2 separate regions of the Homo sapiens genome follow, and region 1 is linked to region 2. Evidence: promoter capture Hi-C in 16 types of primary human blood cells and fetal thymus (Javierre and others, 2016). All regions are on one chromosome and are shown on one strand. Each heading gives the region's core, a stretch centred on a gene start or on the middle of the fragment in contact. The rest is flanking DNA. Distances are from core to core; before and after follow the strand shown. Region 1 holds the start of PRPF40A (pre-mRNA processing factor 40A). Region 2 holds the start of R3HDM1 (R3H domain containing 1).

Evidence for each region. Contacts are between HindIII fragments. The CHiCAGO score rates a contact against its expected background, and 5 or more counts as called.
Region 1: the fragment with the promoter of PRPF40A here is called in contact with the fragment with the promoter of R3HDM1 in region 2 in 3 of 17 cell types (non-activated CD4 T cells, total B cells and naive CD4 T cells); the score reaches 10.8 in non-activated CD4 T cells.

The regions. Positions count from the first base shown.
Region 1 is chr2:152,712,574-152,719,186 of GRCh38, reverse strand. PRPF40A (pre-mRNA processing factor 40A) reads left to right here and starts at 1,726. Exons shown (of 26, transcript NM_001365597.4): 1 at 1,726-1,957; 2 at 3,061-3,192. The coding sequence starts at 1,748. It overlaps ARL6IP6 (ARF like GTPase 6 interacting protein 6), which reads right to left and starts at 567. Exons shown (of 4, transcript NM_152522.7): 1 at 163-567. The coding sequence starts at 562. RefSeq lists enhancers at 397-596, 827-916, 937-1,006, 473-1,178, 1,727-2,026 and 2 more and a silencer at 1,227-1,326. The HindIII fragment of the contact is 8,844 bases long and covers 1-2,021 here.
Region 2 is chr2:135,526,796-135,533,175 of GRCh38, reverse strand. R3HDM1 (R3H domain containing 1) reads right to left here and starts at 1,692. Exons shown (of 27, transcript NM_001378107.1): 1 at 1,543-1,692. ZRANB3 (zinc finger RANBP2-type containing 3) reads left to right here and starts at 1,958. Exons shown (of 21, transcript NM_032143.4): 1 at 1,958-2,049. RefSeq lists a silencer at 1,526-1,715 and enhancers at 1,683-1,977, 1,946-2,215, 2,566-2,645. The HindIII fragment of the contact is 3,394 bases long and covers 1-1,804 here.

The sequences.
Region 1 (6,613 bases), core at 477-2,976, about 17 Mb before region 2:
CAAAGGGCGGGAGAGCAAAGTAAGATGCAAATGAGGACTCTGGGTGAAAGCAGCTGCCAGCCTGAGGGCTTAGCGCGAGGGAAAGGGAGATGGGTGGAGACGAGAGCCACACCCTGGCTCAACTTTACTCTGGACAGACTTTCAAGGCGTCGGCTTCAATACCTTTAACGATCAAGTAGGCGATGGCGAGGAGGAAGGCGAGAAGAATGGCGAAGAGCAGCGAGCAGAGAATAGAGAGGACCTGGACCGGCCACCGCCGAGGCTGGGCTCTGCTGCCCGCGGCCGCGGGAAAGATACCATTGCGCTTATCGGGCAGAACGGGCGACCCGTTCCCGTCCGGCGGGAGCACCGAGCGCTTTCTGGGCTCTGACCACGCCCCAGCCGAGAACTCCGCCCGCAGGTCGCGGGCCACTTGGTCGCATCCCTCCTCCTCGTCGACTTCGCCTTCACCCCAGCTGTCCCCCTGAGTAAAGGAGGAATACGATGGCCGAGCCACAGGGCCCGGGGTGCCGGGACCGCGGCGCCGCAGAGCCGACCGCCACCCGCTCTCAGCAAACGACATGGCGCGAAACACAACGAAACCCGCGGAGAACGAGCCTCTCCCACCTGCCCCGCCCCGGGTCCGCAACAGCCAATCCGCGGCAGTGGCCGCTACCACCAGGCCTCAGAGCCCAGGGGTAAACCACGGAGAGCAAGGGTGGGCGGCGGGTTGCAAAGGAAGCCGCAGGGCCAAAGGAGAGGCGGAATGCGCTTCGACCAGAGCTCGACCCCAGGGCTGTAGCCGGAAAGGGGAGCAGGAAAGCGCGCAGGGAGAAGCGAGCGGAGGCCGAAGGCTGTCGAGTATCCACTCCCTGCGGGGCTTCGTCCCGGCCGGAGACCTCCGCCACCCCCGCGTCACCAACGGGAGCGCGCGCCCCGACAGCCCCAAAGCCTCATCTTTTCGACGCCGGGTCCTAGCGCCCGCTCGCGCCCTCGGAGACACATTCCCGAACCTATTTGTCTTCTCCCTTCTTCCCCACTACGCTCACACTCTTCTCCAGGTTCCCCCATTAAGGGCACCTCTCTACCTGGCGCTCTCGCGGTTCCTTAACTGCTCACCCCCATCTCCCTTTAGTGTGGTTCTCCCCACCCGTACTACAACTTCCCTCCCGCTACTCGACACGCCTCCTTCCCCAGGCGCGCGCTCTCCACCTGGTGCGTACGGAGATCGAACCCTCTCCTCCGAACCCCTCCTTTCGCCTTCCCCGCCTCCTCCCCTCCGCCTCGAGCACCGCGCGCGCGCATTCGGTCCCAGCCACCGCTAACACTACAGGCTGCTTACCCCCGCCCCCTCCACCCTACCCCTGGCGGCCTCAGGTTTGTGGGGCGTACGTAACTCGGGCGGGGAGGGTGAAGGTGGCAGACCCCCACTGCCCCACCCCCTACGGGGTGAGGCGGTCTAAGCTCGGGAAGCTGGGACACTGTTGTCTTCCCTTCCCCTGGGGAAGTTGGTAGAGTTTTCCCGACGGAGGACTCGGCGCAGAAACTTCCTCCGTCCTCCTCCTCCCCCCCCCCCATGCAGGCGACGCCGAGTGAGGCTGAGGCTGGGGGCGAATCGCCGCAGAGCTGCGTGTCGGCGGCGCATTCTGATTGGACAGCGGGGAAGCCCGTCAGCCTGTTGGCCCCGCTGATCCCGCCCCGTAGCGCAGGGCAGCCTTTAACCTTTAGCCCCAGTGGGCGCCAGCCACTCAGATCGCTTCTTGTTGGTATGTGTAGCGGCAGTGGCCGCCGGCGGAGCAGTCTGAGCCCGACGATGAGGCCGGGGACGGGAGCTGAGCGTGGAGGCCTCATGGTGAGTGAAATGGAGAGCCATCCTCCCTCGCAGGGTCCTGGGGACGGGGAGCGGAGATTGTCCGGCTCAAGCCTCTGCTCCGGCTCTTGGGTCTCTGCTGACGGCTTCCTGAGGAGACGGCCCTCGGTAAGGGATCAGTGGGGCAGGGGGAAGGCGGCACAATGAAAAACGGAGTGAGAAACAGGAAGCTTTCTCCGAAAGGAGAAGAAGATAAGAGTGGACGAAGGAAGAACTCGAGATGGTGGGATATGTTCTGAGGGAGAGAAGTGGAGGGTGGAAATGCACAAAGAGAAGGATGTGAGACCCTGGAAGTTCCCCGTGGGCTTGGCCTAGACAGATGCGTGGTGAAGGTGCTGGCTCTTGGGCGGGGTGAGCGTCTTGGAGCTTTAGGCCCGATTTTAGCTGGGAGGGGGAGGCAGGGGCTTGATACTGTAAGACTTTAACAGCGGCTGCCAAAATTTGTTTTCATTAGTCGTCGGGGTGGTCTGCAGGGGGAACTGTTGGGACAATTGGCAGGAGATAATTAGGTGGTTTTAATTTAAAACATAGAACAATGGACTCATCGGTAAAGAAAGTAGTTGTCTTTTTAAACTGCGTTAAAAAGGATGAATTAGTTGTTTGCATTTAGTGTCCGTGAGTGACAGAACCTCAGTCTTTGAAAATGTATTTTTGGCAGAAGGAATTTTACCTGTCTTAAAGGTTATGTTAGGAAATAAGTTTGTTAGGAGTGAATTGTGCCTGGGTAGCCATACTGTTTGTGTTTTGTAAGACCGACTCTCACCTGAGTTAATTGGATAGAGCATTTTAAAGTTTAAAATCAGTAGTGTTATAAAATAACAATAGCTGGCTATCTTTTATATCTGCATGAAATAGGAGAGTTGTTGTTTTCACCATAACAGTTTTAAAATTAGTATTCAATGTGTATCCTCCAAGCTTAGCAAGCCAATTAGTAGCTGGTTAAGTCAGTGCTTAAAAAAAAGAGAGAGAAAACCTATGATCCAGCGGTCCAGGATTCATCTTAACTTTTCCCATTTTTTTACGGAATTTGCAAGCTCGTTTTAAATACTAGCAGAATGCGTTTTGTTTGAAACAAGGTATAGACTAATCCAATGATGTTATTACACATAAGCTTAATATTATGTCGCTTCAGATAACTGATCTGTTGAAATGAGATTTTTGAGAAGCATTTAGTATTATTTGCTCATTTAAAAATGTTCACTGTTTTTCAGATGGGGCACCCTGGCATGCATTATGCCCCAATGGGAATGCACCCTATGGGTCAGAGAGCGAATATGCCTCCTGTACCTCATGGAATGATGCCGCAGATGATGCCCCCTATGGGAGGGCCACCAATGGGACAAGTAAGACTGTTTTTGTTTTATTTTGCATTTATTTATTTGTTTTTGCCTCAGGTATTCTATCAAGATTTCAGAATCTAGGTCAGTAGTTATAGCTGTTTAATGATTAGTTTATGCCCGAATAATTTCAAATAAGCCAAATGTTAAATCATGACTGTAACGGAAATTTGAATAATGGAAAAGTCTTCTGAGAAATTTAAATAATGAAAAAGTCTTCTGAGAAATTTACTGATGACCTCAAAACTAAGAATTTTTTTCTTTATTATTTAAAAGTAAAGTGTGGATCCAGGCTTTTATTTTTAATGATTATTTTTTCAAGAATGCCAATTGAAGTTGATGGTCTAAGTAAATATTATCTGATACAGCAACATAACTGATTTTGGTAGACCATGTAAATAAATAGAATCTGAAAATAGCTATTGTTTTGGTTTAGAGCGAATTTTATTCCTGAAATATCTTCCTCTTTGTGTGTTGGAGGAGGGTGAGGGAGGGTGGGGAGTTTGTGCTCTATAATTCTGATTCTTCATAGGACAGTGCCAATAGGTAGTTCATTTTCCACTTATACTATTTTTTTTTAATGCTTGTTGCTTCTACACTCCTGCTTATGAGCTGTCCCTTCCATCTCTAGCATAAATTGTAAATGGACATTTTGTAGGAGTGATTTGGATCAAAAGGTTTTAATGCTGATTCAGTGATTTCGGTAGAACTGAGTTTCTAGAGAAGCATCCAAGAAAGGTAACAGGTTCAGTTACCATGAGTAATTTTGTGCTTCATGTTAAGTTCTATAATAGATCTTTAGGTGGCTGGGTTATTTCCATTTGAGTATTTCCATAAATCATCAAAAATTTAGGCTAACAAAATATTTTGGAAGCCAATTTCATGTGATCTTTTGCTAATTAGTACTGTTTGATAATTGTTTAAGCTTTCATGGTTAAAGTTATTGGTGAAATTGCAGTGGGAAAAGGAGCTTGCTATGTGTCTGTCTCTTTTTACTTAACCTTAAGAGTAGAAGGGCTTAATGTCCAGTGATTTTCCTCTTTTTTTTTTTAATTTGGAATATTGCCCTTAATTTTGTTAAAAAACAAAACAAAACCTTTATTCAAAGGCACCAGCCCCAAAAGATTCTGCTTGCAGGAGTTCTTTAAATAAAAGAGCCTTTTATTCTGTTACTCTAGAATAACACAAATTTTAAAACTCTCTAGGTGATGGAGAAACAACTTTGATTCCTCTTCTGTTTCTTTCCATCTCTAAGGAGCAAGGAGCTCTTCTTGTTTTCTTGGTAGAGCTGCTCTAACTAGATAATGAGCTTTAAAAATATTTATTCTTTAAATGCTCTGGTTCTTATTTAAAATTAGTTTCTTTCCACAGAAAGATAAAATAAAACAATTTGCTACTGCCAGATGCTTCTCTCTTTTCTGGGGCCTTCTGTTTCCATTGGGCCAATCAAGGTAAGTTTTGCAAGGGATTGACCTGCTTACCCTTGCTGTAATGGTGCTATTGCACTACCAAAACCAAGATACCAGCTAGTCATAGTTCTAGTTAAAAAAAAAAATGCAGATTTTATTTTTTAAAAGTACTTTCATGTATCTCATTGACATAAGCTGGTCACAGTTTGCTTTATGGCCCTTTCTCTTTAGCTGTATCAGTGACCATCTTTCTAGTAAGTTTACTTGCTACTCGGTACACATCCATTCAAATAACTGATTTTTTTGGTGTGGTTTTCTTCTACTTTTTCCTAGGCTAATATATGCCACGTGCCTTTAAGTAGACCTAATTATTTAGATGTTTAGAATTCTTCTCCCTCTGAAGGCTCCTGTTAGTATAATAAATAAATGTTTTAGTAGGAGTTATGCCCTGAAAGTCCCAAAAGAATCTCCGCTGTTTTTGTCAGAATTATATAATTCCCTTTTATCCCCTTAATATTTCACTAACAAATATGGGTCCCAAATCTTGGTAAAACAAATTCTTGTTTTAGCTTTATAACAGACTGGGAGAGCATGGATAATTTGAATTCTCAAATCAGAAATCATATTTGAAACTCTGTAAACATTGCTTTAAAAATTAAAGGTGATAATAAATAGGACAATTGATCCTTTTTCCTGCATTATTTCTTCTGCCACTCTTGGAAGTACTCAGGAGGAATAAGTGGTCAGAAGATAATTGAGAAGAAGCAGGATGTCTGTCTGTATCATTCACAGTAGTGACAGTTGGGAGGGTTCTGCCATGCAATTTAAAAAAGTCAGTTCACAAATTCTTTAGACTTTGGGACTGAAGGTTATAAAAACCTTCATGTGTTGACTGGTTTGCATGAACATCTCATGCTGGGACTAGCTAAAGACTAAAATTGGTGGCAGTCTTACTTGCCAAATAATTGTGGTCTTTGGAATGTTACCAATATGACATGAAACTGTAAAACTTGTTTGTAAAATAATATGCAGACTGGGTAGCATAATGATGTACGGAAGCCAGGGTTCATAATTTCTCAAATGCATCAAGCTATTTAGCTTAAAGAAGTGGTGTGTTCAAATTTTTTTTTTCTTAATTCATGAGATGACCTAGAGTGCCATCTCATGCATTTAGGCTGACTCTTAGTAGTAATAAATATTTGATGATTATCAAATTGAGCTTAATATTCTTTCAGGTTTATTTCAGTTTTCTATCTTGTAGATTAAATTTGCCTCTTATTCTATATAACTTTATAGGAAAGTCATACTTTTAGAGTTATAGGATCTTATAGCTGAAAGGGACCTTACAGGTTGTTTAAGCTTTAAATAATATGTGATTTAAGATGCTTTGAGGATCACTGGTTAAATGTTAGTAAAGAAAGATAAAGAATTTTCCCTGCTGGATGGCAGTACTCAAAAATTTCCCATTGGGAGGCTGAGGCGGGTGCATCGCTTGAGCTCAGGAGTTGGAGACCAGCCTGGGCAACATGGTGAAACCCCATCTCTACAAAAACTATTTAAAAATAAGCTGGGTGTGGTGGTGTGCGTCTGTCGTCCCAGCTACTTAGGGGGCTGAGGCAGAAGGATTGCTTGAACCTGGGAGGTCGAGGCTGCAGTGAGTCAAGATCACGCCTTGCACTCCATCCTGGGTGACAAAGTGAGACCCTATCTCAAAAAAATAAAGATTTTCTGTAGAGATTTCTATCAATAAAATTATGTGTGAGGCTGTCTTCTTCCTCAGTGTCCATAGTAAATACTGTTTTCATGTCTTTTGTGTTTTCTACACAAAGGACATGCAGGTCCTGCCATCTTTATCACAGATGATTATGCCTTTGCCCCAGAGTCATGCTAGCTGGCTCTTTTTTTTTCCTCCCTATTTGAGTCTTTATTTTCCTCTATCAGTGAGAAGAGTAGAGTAATTGAGTTAAGGTCCCTTTCAGCTCTAACATCCTATGATTCAGTTCAGATCATTTGATAAG
Region 2 (6,380 bases), core at 443-2,942:
CTACATGACTGGCAATTTTCATTTTTTTAATAGATACCACAAATTTCCTCCAGGACCTGAATGTATCTATGTCAATTCTGTAACTAGGTGTACTAGTTATGGAATACAGAAGATCATTAAGCCACCATAGTCTTCTCAAACCCTGAAGAAATGATCAAAACTCAGATGTTTCCTCAGAACCCAAGTTTATTCTGCTAACAAGTAAACCTCAGAAATGGGCCTAGAATTTTATCTCTGATCACAGTTATGTCTACTACAGACTATAGAATCCATGATTTAAAGACATATTCTTCCAGGCATAAAAGCAGAGTGGTATTTGAAAAGACGAGCGTACTCCATCAAAATGTGATGAAGAAATCATAACAGAATGCCCTAAAAATAGCCAAATATGCCAAATTTTTAGAAATTGAGACGTGTCCAATTATTCCTGTCAGACTGGTATCCTATTACTTAGAAGATCTTGTTTCACATATTATAAATGGGTAGACTTTCAGTTTGACTTTAATCATCTTTTCATTTAAAAGTTTTTGTCATCAATGATATTTAAGCTAAAAAAGGTTTCTTACAGTTACAATTAGGTAAACTATAACCATGAAGATATATATATATATATTTAGAAAATTTTATTAGAAAAACCATTTGCTGTTCACTAATCCTAATTTGGAAAGCACCTCTTCTTCACCTTTTACTTAACTATCCCAGGACAATTACACACGGAGCATGATAGTCCCAATAATTTAAGTTTCTTTATAAAAACAAGCTCAACAGAGTCACCCTTTGCACCTAGTCACAGCAACAAAAGAAAACAAAACACCAAAAAACTTCAAAGCCCACAAAGATTTGTTGGCAGCCTAAGGCTCAGGAATCAAAACGTGTGTAAATCTGATCCCGGGGGACCGTGGCACTGACAGTCATTCAACTTTCTTTTTAATATTCCCATTGTGCTTTTTCTGGTACCACAGGGAAAATGTACCTACATTTTACCAACCGGTCGAAGCTGAAAATTCTCTTGGTGCAAGGCCAGGGGATGCGGCCGTGGGGCGGCCGGGGGAGCCCGGGGCACCGGCGCCAGCCACACGAGAGAGCAGTACCACGCTCTTGGCAGGCCTGCTGTGGCTGGCTCCCGAGTCCCTGGGGCTGCAAGAGCAGCCGCGGAGGCAGCAGCAGCAGCCATGGCAGGGACTCGGAAACCTTTCCCCTGCCTCCTCCGCTAGGCCTCGAGGGGTTTGCTTTTCACATGGCCCCCGGGTGGGGGCGGTGGGCACAAGGCAGTGGCTGCAGCTGCAGCCGGAGCCGCAGCCGCGGGCCAGGCGAGCCTGGCTCACTCGGAACCCGACCTAACGGCGGGCTGGCAGCAGCGGGACGTCAGAAGGCCCTGGCTGAAGCGCCGACGACCCGGCGGGGAAGGCCACCTTTCCACACACCACATCTCTCCCCTGCCTGCCTCCTTCTCCGTTAGCGCTACCGGTTGGCGGGCGGGGGAGGGGAGCAAGGCGCGTTATTCCCGGGGAGCTGGACGGGGGAGGGAAGGGCATCTCTTACCCGCGTTACTGAGGAGGAGGAGGCGGTTGGAGCGCGGCGCGGCGGGGCGACGGCGGGGCTGGGTGGGTGCAAGTAAGAGTCTTACGAAAGGGAATTAACCCCATCACCAGCCCGGACACCGGCTCCAGCGGCAGCCGCGGCTGGCAGAATCCCGCCCCTTCCCACCACGCACTAGCCCCGCCTCTTCGTTCTCTTTGAGCGGCAGCCGACTATTCATAGGTTGTACGTCCCCGGAGTGACATGAGTTTTGCCCAATCAAGCTTGAAAAAAACTGTCTTCTCTCCACCCCTTTACCTCCTCCCAGGCCGCGGAGAGCCGTGCCAAATCTTCCTCCAACCTCAAGAGAAAAAGAACCAATCCGTGGTAAGTAACCGCCCTTGAAGGACGCAAAAGCCAACCAATGGTAAAACTAGGAGGACAGCCATTTTGCCCACTTGTAAAAGAGCTACCTTTTCCCACGAGTTGGAGCCTGAGGTGCGGAGTTTCGTGAGTTTTTACTGACTCGAGGTATTTAAAAGACAACCAGATCTCCTCAGTGGGTATTTATAGTGCTTTTTAGGGGTAAAGGAAAATTATCCTCCATGTGGGGCGAAGTGAGGCATGCTGCTTAAGGGGTTGGCTCCTCCCCTTAGCGCTAACGGGTTCTGAAACGAACACCTGGTTTCTCCAGCTTCAGTGGCGGAGGGCGGGGTGATTGCTCTTTTCGGCCTGGAGCGGACTACGATTCCCAACATGCTTTTCCCCTACTCATAACTTCTCCTCCGTTCACTTGTCGCGGTGCTTGGCTGGAATTGTAGTTCCTGAGAGGTACCCATGCCGCCGCTTCAGCCAATGAAAAGGGACAGAGTTTTGAATGACTTGAAATTAGGGCGGAGAACGAGTTGTCGCGAGGCTGTACAGAGCCCTTTTCGCAACCCTAACGGGAGAGAAGTGATGGAAGAAGGGTAGCCGGAAGAGTTTCCTCAAAATACCATAGGGGTTTTAAATTATTAGTACGTATTTAAACTCATCTACTTTCACGTTGTCCCGTTGAACGTCACTTCCGCTTAGGGGCGGACACGTCCCAAACCTGTGGCGGGAGTTGGAGATTCTGCGGCGAATACGCCAGGTGTGACTGGCTGGAAGTGGCGTGGCTGGCAAGTCGCTAGTTTCTTGCATGGGAGATAAAAAGTTGAACGGAATTTAATGGCATTTTAAGAAAGAGTGGGTGACATGGGATGGGGGTAATTTCCAGGGCCCTTATTACTTTCTCCACCCCGGCCTTCAATCGCGGGCGTCTCGGCCTGCTCGCTATTAGATTGCACGGCTAAATTTGTAGAAAGTACCTCTACTGCCTTTAGTCTTCGCGTGGTCAGTTTGAACTGTAAAGACAGGGCTCCGAAGTTCTGAACTACATTTACAGACACACTTTTTTTTTTTTTTTTTGAGACGGAGTCTTGCTCTGTCCCCAGGCTGGAGTGCAGTGGTGGGATCTTGGCTCACTGATTCACGCCATTCTCCTGTCTCAGCCTCCGGAGTAGCTGGGATTACAGGCGCGCGCCACTCAGCCCAGCTAATTTTTTGTATTTTTAGTAGAGACGGGGTTTCACCATGTTGGCCAGGATGGTCTCGATCTCCTGACCTCGTGATCCGCCCACCTTGGCCTCCCAAAGTGCTGGGATTACAGGCGTGAGCCACCGCGCCCGGCCACAAACACACTTCTAAAGTCAGCTTGGAAGGAAAAGAGTCACAGAAAAGGGCTTTTCTGTTTGAAGGATTGATAATCAAGAGTGGCCCCATCACCACTCTTTGAGTAACGACCATTTATTAAACGAGTGGCAGACAGGCGCGGTGGCTCAGACCTGTAATCCTAGCACTTTGGGAGGCCGAGGCGGGAGGATTACTTGAGGTCAGGAGTTCGAGACCAGCCTGGGCAACATGGTGAAATCTTGTGTCTGCTAAAAACTCACACACACACATTAGCCGGACGTGGTGGCAGAGATCTGTAGGATCTGTAGTCCCAGCTACACGGGAGGCTGAGGCAGGAGAATCGCTTCAACTTCGGAAGTGGTTACAGTGACCCGAGATCGCGCCACTGCACTCCAGCCTCGGGTGACAGAGCGAGACTCCGTCTCAAAACAAAAACAAAAACAAAAAACGTGTGACTACAGGGTGCCAACTATAATACACCGATGAATAAAGGCATCACTAAAAAGATGCCTTTATTCATCGGCCACATGGAGCCCACAGCCTAATAATCTTAGCACGTAAGGCCCTGATTTATGCCTCCTTCAGAGTTCAAGGGCGACTGTATGTATACTTTTGGACATTCCATTTAAGGTACCCAGGAAAACTGATTGAATAAAGAAGATACAAGTTACAGAAAAGGGTTTTTCCCTCCCTATGCGTGTGCCCTTTATTCTTAAACTCTTTGCTTTATTATTTTGACTGAGACTTTCTCAGATAAATTCTAATTCAGTTTACTCCATGATTTTACTGAGATTTTCTCTTATAAATCCTGTTGTATTTATGGTATGAGCGCTTAACACTGTATTGGGTACTATACCAGACTTTGGGTAGAGCAGTGCCTAAAAAGACAGGCTCCTTGTCCAAAAGTTGTGAGGAAGAGAGAGGCTAAACAAAATTGTAATGTCACTTACTGTTTCAATCTCTAAGTCAAGTCTTCTTTAGTCACATTTTGTATGTTTATTTGGTCCCTTCTTTACATTCTACCTTTGGATTAAAATAAGCACGTTTTCCTCTTTGCATTGTTTTTACTAAAGCACTAATCTGTGTCCAATACTAACGAGTGATGTTTGTATACAAAGTAAGATGGTAAATTTTATAGTGTAATCCTGCTAGATATAGGAATGTAACCATACCTTGCAGCAAGACATTTTTGTAGATCTACCAGGCAAAGTGTTGTCTCTTGCTTTTTAATGCAATTAGGATATTCAGTGATAATTTAGCAATGCAGTCTACTGTAGATGCTTAGTTTTTTTTTTTATTTGTTTGTGTCAGGAGTTCTTCCAGTGTAAATCTAGTCACTAAATAGTAATGATGGCCATCATTTTATTGAGTTTCGTCTGAGCCAGAAATGATGTTATGTGTGATAAGTACATTTTCCTTATGACAAACTGTAAGTCTTCTTGACATTTTTATATTTGAAGAAAGTGAGGCTCAATGAAGGTAAATAAGACTTGTAGAGGTCTGACCTGGTGGCTCATACCTGTAATCCCAGCACTTTAAGATGTCAAGGCAAGAGAATCACTTGAGTCTAGCAGTTCTAGACCAGCCTGGGCAACATAGGAAATTTCAGTCTCTACAAAAAATAAAAAAATTAGCTGGGCGTAGTGGTGCACAACTGTGGTCCAGCTACACAGGAGGCTGAGGTGAGGGAATCGCTGGGGCCCAGGAGGTCAAAGCTGCAATGAGCTGTGATTGAGCCACTGCACTCCAGCCTGGGGCAACACAGGAGACTCTGTCTCAAACAAACCACAAAAAAAAAAAAAAGAGCTTTAAGGTCTGAGGCCCCTATTAAATAAATTTGAGTTGAGATTCATATCCAGGCCTGTCTAATTCCTGAACTCTTAACCACTATTCATCTTGCCTTTCAAATTTTTATTAATCCTTCAACGTGTGCCAGACACATAATGATGAGGGAAACAAAATTCCATCCCAGGATTCTGGAGCCAATGGTGGCAGTCACTTCCTCTTGTAAGCCATCTTTTGCCATGTACGTAATACTTAGTCCACACGGGAAAATGTAAAAAAGAAAGTAAAGGTCATCTGCAATTCTATTACCAAGAGATGCCACTGTTTACACATATCTCTGTCTTTAGTTACAGGTATGGACACATGTTTTAATGATATAATGCTTTGCTTTTTTTAAATTGAAAAAACTTGCAACAGTGGGCTATGGTTGTGGCTGAATAGATACCAGTATTATCATTTGTGATAGCTACTTTATTGTATAGCTCTAGCATAACCAATTCCCTGCTGATGGATATTTGCATTGTTTTCAATTAATAATTTATTTTTTATTGTGTTAAAAACGCATAACACAATATATCATCTTAACCATCTTTTTTTTTCTTTTTTTATTTTGCGACAGAGTCTTGCTCTGTCTTCCAGGCTGGAGTACAGTGGCTCACTGCAACCTCTGCCAACTGGGTTCAAGTGATTCTCCTGTCTCAGCCTCCTGAGTAGCTGGGATTATAGGCATGCACCATCATGCCTGGCTAACTTTTGTATTTTTAATAGAGATGGGGTTTCACCATGTTGCCCAGGCTGGTCTCGAACTCCTGACCTCGAGTGATCCACCCACCTCACCTCCCAAAGTGCTGGGATTACAGGTGTGAGCCACCGTGCCTGGTCATCTTAACCATTTTTAAATGTATAGTGTGACCCTGAGTCTTCTCTGAGGCCCCATGTGTGGGTGCCAGATGATTGTCGACAAAAAGAGTCAAACTGTAAAATATGAGGAGATTTATGCTGAGCCAAATATGAGTGACCATGGCCCATGACACAGCCCTCGGGAGGTCCTGAGAACATGTGCCCAAGGTGGTTGGGGTACAGCTTGGTTTTATGTATTTTAGGAAGGCATGAGACATCAATCAAATACATTTAAGAAATGCATTGGTTTGGTTTAGAAAGGCGGGACAACTCAAAGTGGGGACTTCCAGGCTATAGGTAAATTTAAACATTTTCTGGTTGACAATTGGTTGAGGTTGTTTGAAGACCTGGGATTGACAGAAAGGAATGCTCAGGTTAAAGATAAAGGATTGTGGAGACCAAGTTTTATTGTACAGAGGAAGCTCTTAGATAGCAGACTTCAGAGAGAGCAGGTTGTAAATTGT